Linked DNA regions of Homo sapiens: region 1 is linked to region 2. The links are contacts of gene promoters, found by promoter capture Hi-C in human tissues and cell types (Jung and others, 2019). All regions are on one chromosome and are shown on one strand. Each heading gives the region's core, a stretch centred on a gene start or on the middle of the fragment in contact. The rest is flanking DNA. Distances are from core to core; before and after follow the strand shown. Region 1 overlaps CCDC178 (coiled-coil domain containing 178). Region 2 holds the start of CCDC178 (coiled-coil domain containing 178).

What was found. The method cuts DNA at HindIII sites, captures the fragments that hold promoters and counts their contacts. A contact is called where the count stands out against the background at its distance.
Region 1: a contact is called between a fragment that was not itself captured here and the fragment with the promoter of CCDC178 in region 2, in 1 of the 25 tissues and cell types used here (H1 embryonic stem cells).

Annotation. Positions count from the first base shown.
Region 1 is chr18:33,402,047-33,405,739 of GRCh38, forward strand. The region is part of intron 3 of CCDC178 (coiled-coil domain containing 178); the gene reads right to left. Among named protein-coding and RNA genes, the nearest start is that of CCDC178, 37 kb to the right of the region's middle. The HindIII fragment of the contact is 6,003 bases long and covers 1-3,693 here.
Region 2 is chr18:33,439,359-33,443,426 of GRCh38, forward strand. It overlaps CCDC178 (coiled-coil domain containing 178), which reads right to left and starts at 1,363. Exons shown (of 23, transcript NM_001105528.4): 1 at 1,295-1,363; 2 at 604-723. The HindIII fragment of the contact is 6,939 bases long and covers 1-4,068 here.

The DNA.
Region 1 (3,693 bases), core at 162-2,661, 37 kb before region 2:
TTGTGGAAAACAATATAAAATAAATATTGAAGGCCACACAAATGTTCACAGCCTATGTCCCCCAAATTTCAATTCTGAATACTTAACTTGAAACAAAAACCCACAAAAGACAAAAGTTAAAAAGAGATATCAGAGAAAATGATAAAGACCTTTGAAAAATCTACCTCTCCATAAATACAAAGATTTAAAAAGGCGAAATTGTCAAAATCAACATTTTCAGAATTCCAGAAATATAGCAAAGGCTTCCAGCAACTGTGTGAACAACTATTCAAGAAAAACAGATAAATCTTGGTAAGAACACAAACATTTGTGGCTTCTTAACTTTCCTTGGTCCCAGCCCTGACTCTGAAGGTCAACAGAGCCTTGAAAAATAAAGGTCCACATTTACGATATCGGAGGAGGAAGAAGAGAGTTGCAGTTTTTTGCAAGCCTCATTCCTAAAGAACTGTCATTTTTAGAAATACCTGGTTATTCCCTGCAAGACTTCACTTCTAAAGCTGTGAGCATGATCAGGAAAAAGTCAGGCTAATATTATCGGAAAGAAGAGATTTAAAGGAATTAGCATCTATCAAAGTCCAACTCTTCTAGAGATATCTTACATTTCTGAGATATGAGAATTTACATATTACACTTATCTATTCAGTGGTTCTTAACCAGAATAGTATCCAGATTTTGAGGACTTTGTTGTTGTTGTTACTGTTAGAGGAAGGGTCTCATTATGTCGCCCAGGCTACATTCAAACTCCCAAGCTCAATCAGTCCTCCCATCTCAGCCTCCCAAGCAGCTGGGACTACAGCTGCTGCACCGCCATGCCTGGCTTCAAGGAAATATTTGTAAACATACATGTCCACGCTTTATTAGACTTACTCTATCAAAATCTTCAGGGGAGAGCCTAGACTTGTAGATTTTTTTAAATTTTTCTGCAGGTTACTGTGATGCACAATTCTAGTTGAGAACTAGTGCAATAGACAATTACTTCAGTCTCATCTCTCACCCATATAACCAAATCCCTTTATCATTTGAGGATTTGGCACACACACAGAAAAGACCCATGAAAGCCCTAATCTCTCACCTCTGGTTGACCTTGAGACTCTGCATGTGCCAGAAGGAAAGGCTAAGGCTGAGCTGTCAAGTCCTTGGATGAGTGTTGAAGATGTATCTGAACATGCACATAAAGATGCTCAGCAAAGACAGAGATTTGATTCCAGGAATCTAGAGAAATATCTGTTCCGCCATTAATTGACCATTAAGCCAACTGGATAGAGATTTCAGTGAGTGGCCACAGAGGGCTTCAGAGAACTAATTTAGAAAAGTTGCTAAATTAACAACTACAAAAATCAGCAGGGAAAGCAAACCCTAGAGAAGAAGAACAATCTGATGACCACAGGTTCTCACGTTCTATTATTTTAAATGCCCAGTTTTCAACAAAAATGTATGACATCCAAAAAAAAAAAAAACCGGACAAATGGTTCATACAGAGGAATAAAGCAAATAGACTTTTGTCAAAATCAGTTTGGATACTACAGTTACACTTTGATACATAAAAATCTTGAAAGTCAGCATTCGGTTTCTCTTAAAAGAAAAAGCTGAACGGAAATACTCAACAATTTTTCTTAGGTCCATCAGTGAATTAAGGTTACAATGTAAACTGACACCCCAAAAACTGGAGGGTCAGGCTAATGCAGAAGTTGCTGGAGCCAAAAATGGGTAGAGAAGTGTAAGATCTAATTGATTAACTATTGGAGGCTGAGTGTGGACTAGTTTGAGAGTTAAAAACTTCTGGGGAGTCAGTATTAGAGGGCCAGGTATATTTTTACTTTTATCTCCAGCTCCACCTTGTTCTCACAGTTGAAATTTGAGGAATACTCCTTTCGACTTCTAGAAGAAGGGGAAAAGTAGTTATTTTGAATTATTGCCAGGGTAAAAATTGCCATTTTGAAATATACCCAGAAGGTTTGGTTTACCACTACCCCTCAAGGGAAACTACCTTAACAGAGACTAACCAATGGAAAGAGGGAAATATTCACTTCAGCCCCTCTAGACTTCTTGTTAAACCTAAGGTGAAAAGAAATCTGAGAAGCATGAGATAACATTATGCATTTGTCAAAACCCAGAGATCTGTACCACAAAAGAATGAGTCATGGACCTTAGTTCATAAAAATGTATCAATATTGGTTTATCAACTTTAACAAATACACAACACTAATGCAAGATGTTAATAATATTGGAAATTGTGAATGTGGGTTAGGAGATAGTGAGTATATGAGAGCTCTGTATTATGTACCAGTTTTCTATAAACCTGAAAATACTCTAAAGACAGTCTACTAATTAAAAAAAAAAATAAGTGAAATGTCACTTCACAGCCACTAGGAGGCTATAATAATAAAGTAAAAACAAACCAAGAAACTAATAACTGTTGGTAGGGATGTGGAGAAACTGGAGTCCATGTATTTTGTATTATGAAATGTAAACTATGGCTGCTTCTGTGGAAAGCAATTTGGCAATTACTAATAAAGTTAAACACTGAAATTACAAAATGACCCAGCAATTCCATTCCTAACTATACACCCAACAGGAATGAAAACATATGTTTGCATAAAAACTTGTATTCAAATATTCATAGCAGCATTATTCATAATATTCCTAAAACAGAAACAACTAAAACATCTATCTACTGATGAATGTATAAACAATAGGTGGAATATCCATAAAGAATAATAGTATTCAGTCATACAAAGGAATTAAATATGAATACATTTTACAACATGGATGAACCTTGACAGCATTATCTTGGTTGAAAAGGTGAAAGGCATGCAGAGCCAACTATTTTATAAAATCATTGATATGAAATATCTAGAGTAAACAAATCCATAGAGCAAGAAAACAGATTTGTGGTTCCAGAGGCTGGGTAGAGGAGGAATGGGGAAAGAATGCTAGTGGTACAGGGTTTCTTTCAGTGGTTATGAAAGTGTTCTAGAAATAGATAGTGGTAATGGCCACACAAACTTATACTAAAAATTCTAAATTGTAAACTTTAGAAAGGTAAATTTTATGCTATGTGAATTGTAGCTTAATTTTAAAAAGCTAAACACAGTATCACTTAGCATATATGCCAAAATAGAACAATAGTTATTTAAATTATGATAAAGAAGACTGAGAACTATTATTCAATAAAAACGTAATTATCAAGAATTACAAAAATGTATGTTATTTATATAATTTAAATTTTAAAATTATACTTATAATGCATCTGTATAAATACATCTATATCCATTAAAAGATAATGTATATGAAAGAAAACAGTAGTGTTTTACTATTAGGCATGTCATATTTTTTGTATTTCCAAAATTTTTATATTCTAGTAAAATTTTAAACAGTAAAAAACAAAAAATAAAAAATCCTTTGGAATCTACATAAGAATACTAAGTTGATTATAATTAGATGAAAATAAAATTGGTATGATTTGATGTCAAATGACAATTAGATAATACATTTAAGATACTCTCATAAACAAAAAATAAATTATATAAAAAAGTAAGCCAAATAATTTATCAAATAAAACTGTCATTCAAGTATATAGGCCAGAGATAATTGCTATGAACATTCAAGAAATGAAAGAATATATTTCCTGGGATCCCTTTCTGAATCCACTAGAAAGTAGATGTAGTACAACAAAAATGAAGGGAGAAATTT
Region 2 (4,068 bases), core at 113-2,612:
TGTGGATAAAAGCTCTGGCAGCAATCCCAACCCATCCAGGGATAGTGGGTAGACTAACAATCAAACTCATATTTTCGATAGTTCTGGAAATTAGACAGATATAGTTTATAATAAAACTTTATGACTGCAACAGTAAAGTAAGAAGTATTATATATTCAAGATAGAAATACACTAGTTTCTGTACGAATGTCTAAATAACAATTGAACATAAATAGCTGAAAATCCTCTGGATTCTTGGATTTGTCTTACAACTAGTCATGTCTCTGAGTTCTTAAACTTGGTAAGTGGTGTTCTAAAACCTATTACTACAGCAGGACCAAGAAACAATATTTTGAGGGTAGGAGGGAGATGTCAAGAATGCTGTATTTGGGTCAAGATGCCCAGAGCAATCAATACACAACAGATTATCCAATGATAAATAGGAGTGATAAGCTACCAAGTCAATTCACAAATATTTATTGAGCAGTGGATGAATGTCAAGAAAACAATAATAGAAAATGCTTTGAATTGGCAATCGGGAGATTCTTATATTCCTGAGTTTGAAGATTGCTGGATCTGACTTTTGTCAAATCACAAATCAGCTCTGAATATCACTTTTCTCACCTGTAAAGGGGAGGTGTTGGCGTGGATCATCTTATTTGGGGTGCTTTCGAGCAAGCAAGTATAAAATTCTCAGCCTCTCCGCCAGGAAGTTGTTCAGTATTTGACTTGATTGAGCAGACACTTAAAAAATTAAATATCAAGAAAAGAAATCAATAACAGTTCAAAGGAATAATACATGAGCCACCACAAGGCGGCCTTATAAGCAAAATAAAAGTTGAAATAATTATTTTAAAGGAATAAGACGCTAGAGACGCAGTTACAGACAAGACGAAGTTCCTCTAGGCGGCCAGCGGAGGGAGACTCTGCTTCCCTTCCCCCGGCAGTGGGGACTGGGGGACTGGGGGACTGGGGGACTGGGGGACTGGGGGACTGGGGGACTGGGGACAGGGGTTGGAGGACTGGGAAACTGGAGGACGGAGAACAGGGGGACAAAACGACTGGGGGACTGGGGAATTATGGGACTGGGGATTTGGGGAATTGTTTTCAAACGCGCGGGGCAAGGACTCCCCACCGCCTCTGGAAGGGGTGAAGAACTAGTCGACTCTAACTCCCTCAGGGTGGCCAGGGAATTGCATTTGGTTCTCCCGCGGGAGTCGCGCAGGCGGGCGGCCAGGGGGAGTGGGCGCCGCCCGGCAGCGCCCCGCGCCGAGGCACAAGCGCCCGCGCCGAGGCACAAGCGCCCCCGACTCACCGGCTCCGCGCGTTTCCCCGCGCGTCTCCCGGACCCGCGCCTGCCCACCCCTCCGGCTCTGCTGCGGTCGAGGCCCCAAGTCGGTTATCCCGTGTCCAGGCAACCGCGGGGGCGGCGGCGGCGGCGTGAGGAGCGGGCGGCTGCTGCTCCGGGGCCTCCTGGCTCGAGCCCTTAGCCCCCGACTCCCGGCGTTTCGGCGCCCGATCAGCGCTCCAGGCCGCCCCCGCTCCGCCTTCTCCCAGTGCCTTTCCCTTTCTCTTGTAACCGATTTGCCAACCCAACTCCTTTCCCTCTTTACCGGAGAGGGAAGGAGTGGAGACGAGTCAACGCCCCTTCGTACAGCAGTGAGGTTAGAACGTGAGGGGATCACAGACTTCGTCCACCTTCGGGAGGACCGCAGGACCTCTTTCTTTCTTGCCACTTGGGATGATACAACCAGGACTCCATGCGATAACCCCATGTGGTTTGGTTGTGACTTCAGTATTGAGAAACCTCAACAAACTGTTAAGGAAGAAAGAACTTTTCCTAGTGTCTGAAAGTGGGGAAAATGACTAATTCAAGACTAATTCAAGCCATTTCTCTAAGGGTCTGTTTCTTTCAAAAACAAATTTTTGAAGCATTGATCCTTCTGACAAAATACTAAGTGGCAGGCCGGGTGTGGTGGCACAACCCTGTGCCAGGCGTGTCCTGTCCCAGGACTTTGGGAGGCCGAGGCAGGAGGATTGCTTGAGCCCAGTGGTTAGAGGCTGCAGTGAACTGGGATCGTGCCACTGCACTCCAGCCTGGGCGACAGATCAATAAATACATAAATCAGTGGCACAAAATGTATTACCTACATTTTGTTTCTTCATCTGTGAATATACACTGTGAACTGAAATAGGCTTCAGAGGACAGTCGTGTCTTACACTATTGTCACCGTCTTCTTCAATGAAAACAAACACTGGACTATAAACTGAAGATGGTTAAAAAAAAAAAACAGAATCAGAATAAAGATTAGCATTCTCATCCAGAGAAATCATTTTTCCAGGCAACACTGAGAACAGGCAATTGCCTGCCAAGGTTAAATCAGCAAAGTCTATTACTTTAAGAGGCAATTTAATTAGTAATCCTTTCTAAGAGGGGAAAACCAGCAAGTCCGTACCTGGAATGTGGTCCTTTCAGCCAAAGATGAAAAAAAGGAAGCAATAACTAACAAACTGGTGGAAGGTCTTAATCTTAAATTAATATATGCAGAAGCAGAGCTCTTTTTGTAATTAAAAAATGGATTCAAGAATGCACTCCACTTTCCCATCTCCCTCCATTAATTATTAAACTTTGGCTTGTTCTCAATACAATGTTAAATTATAAACCAAATGAATCATTTGCATGCCAGTAAATATGTATTCATGAGGGTTCACAATATGTAAATGTGCATATTAAAACAATAGCTAGATTTTTTTCTCATAAAATAAAACTTTACCTACTAGAAATCTCATTATTGACAAGTTTCTCTTAATTAGAACTCACTGATAATTGCTAAACCCCTGTTGTGGCAGGCAGAATTCTAAAATGGACGCCCATGACCCTACCCCTTGGTATACACACCTGCATAATCCTTAGGACTTTAAATTTGGTGGATTTCATTTTCCTGATTAGTTTGTTACCTGACACAATTGACTTGAAAAAGGGAGATTATCCAGGATGGGTTGGCCTTTATTAGGTAAACCCTTAAAAGGGACTGACCTCTTCCTGGAGTCGGAGGTTTGAAGCATCAGAGGGATTTATCAAAGGGATATTCTCTATTGTCACCTTTGAAGATTGACAAGACCCTATGGTAAGGAAGGCAGGCAGCCTCTAGCAGCCGACAATGATCCCAGGTGACGGCGAGCAAGGCAATGGGGACCTCAGTCCTACAACTGCAAGAAACTGAATTCTACAAATAATCTGGATGTGCTTGGAAGAGAACACTGAACTCAAAATGAAAATATGTCCTGGTTGGGCACGGTGGCTCATGCCTGTAATCCCAGCACTTTGGGAGGCCAAGGCAGGCAAATAACTTGAGGCCAGGAGTTCAAGACCAGCCTGGCCAACATGGTGAATCCCCGTCCCTACCAAAAATACAAAAAAATTAGCCAGGTATGGTGGCACGCACCTGTGGTCCCAGCTACTCAGGAGGCTGAGGTGGGAGGATTGCTTGAGCTTGGGAGGCAGACATTGCAGTGAGTCAAGATTGTGCCACTGCACTCTAGCCTGAGCACAGAGCAAGATCCTATCTTAAAAAAAAAAAAAAAAAAGGAGATTATGGATTATGTCCTGCCATCACCTTGATTTCAGCCTCGTGAGACCCTGAGCAGACAACCCAGGCAAGCTCACTTGGGCTACTTACTTAGAGAACCGTGAGGCTAATAAATGGACATTGTTTTAAACTGCTAGACTTACCGTAATTTGTTACACAGCCAAAGAAAGCTAATACACATATTAACTTACTTCACATAAACAAAAGTGGGTATTTTGAAATTAAAAAATGTAGGAGTATCTCAGTAAACCCAGTGCAGGATTGTGGCTGAAACTCAAATAGAACAGAAATCAGACACTGCAAAATCAATACCAGACTTATCATCATAAACAAGAACCTAGTAGTGATGGGGTTTAGGACATGCTACCCTAAATTTTTTTAAGCTGAAGAAATTTTAGAAAATTGCAGAAGCAGGAAAGTCACTCTGACCTTCCTCTCCATCTGTCTCCCTGGAAGGTCATAAAACCTAGAAAGGATTTTCTTACCTTCCCCAGGCTCA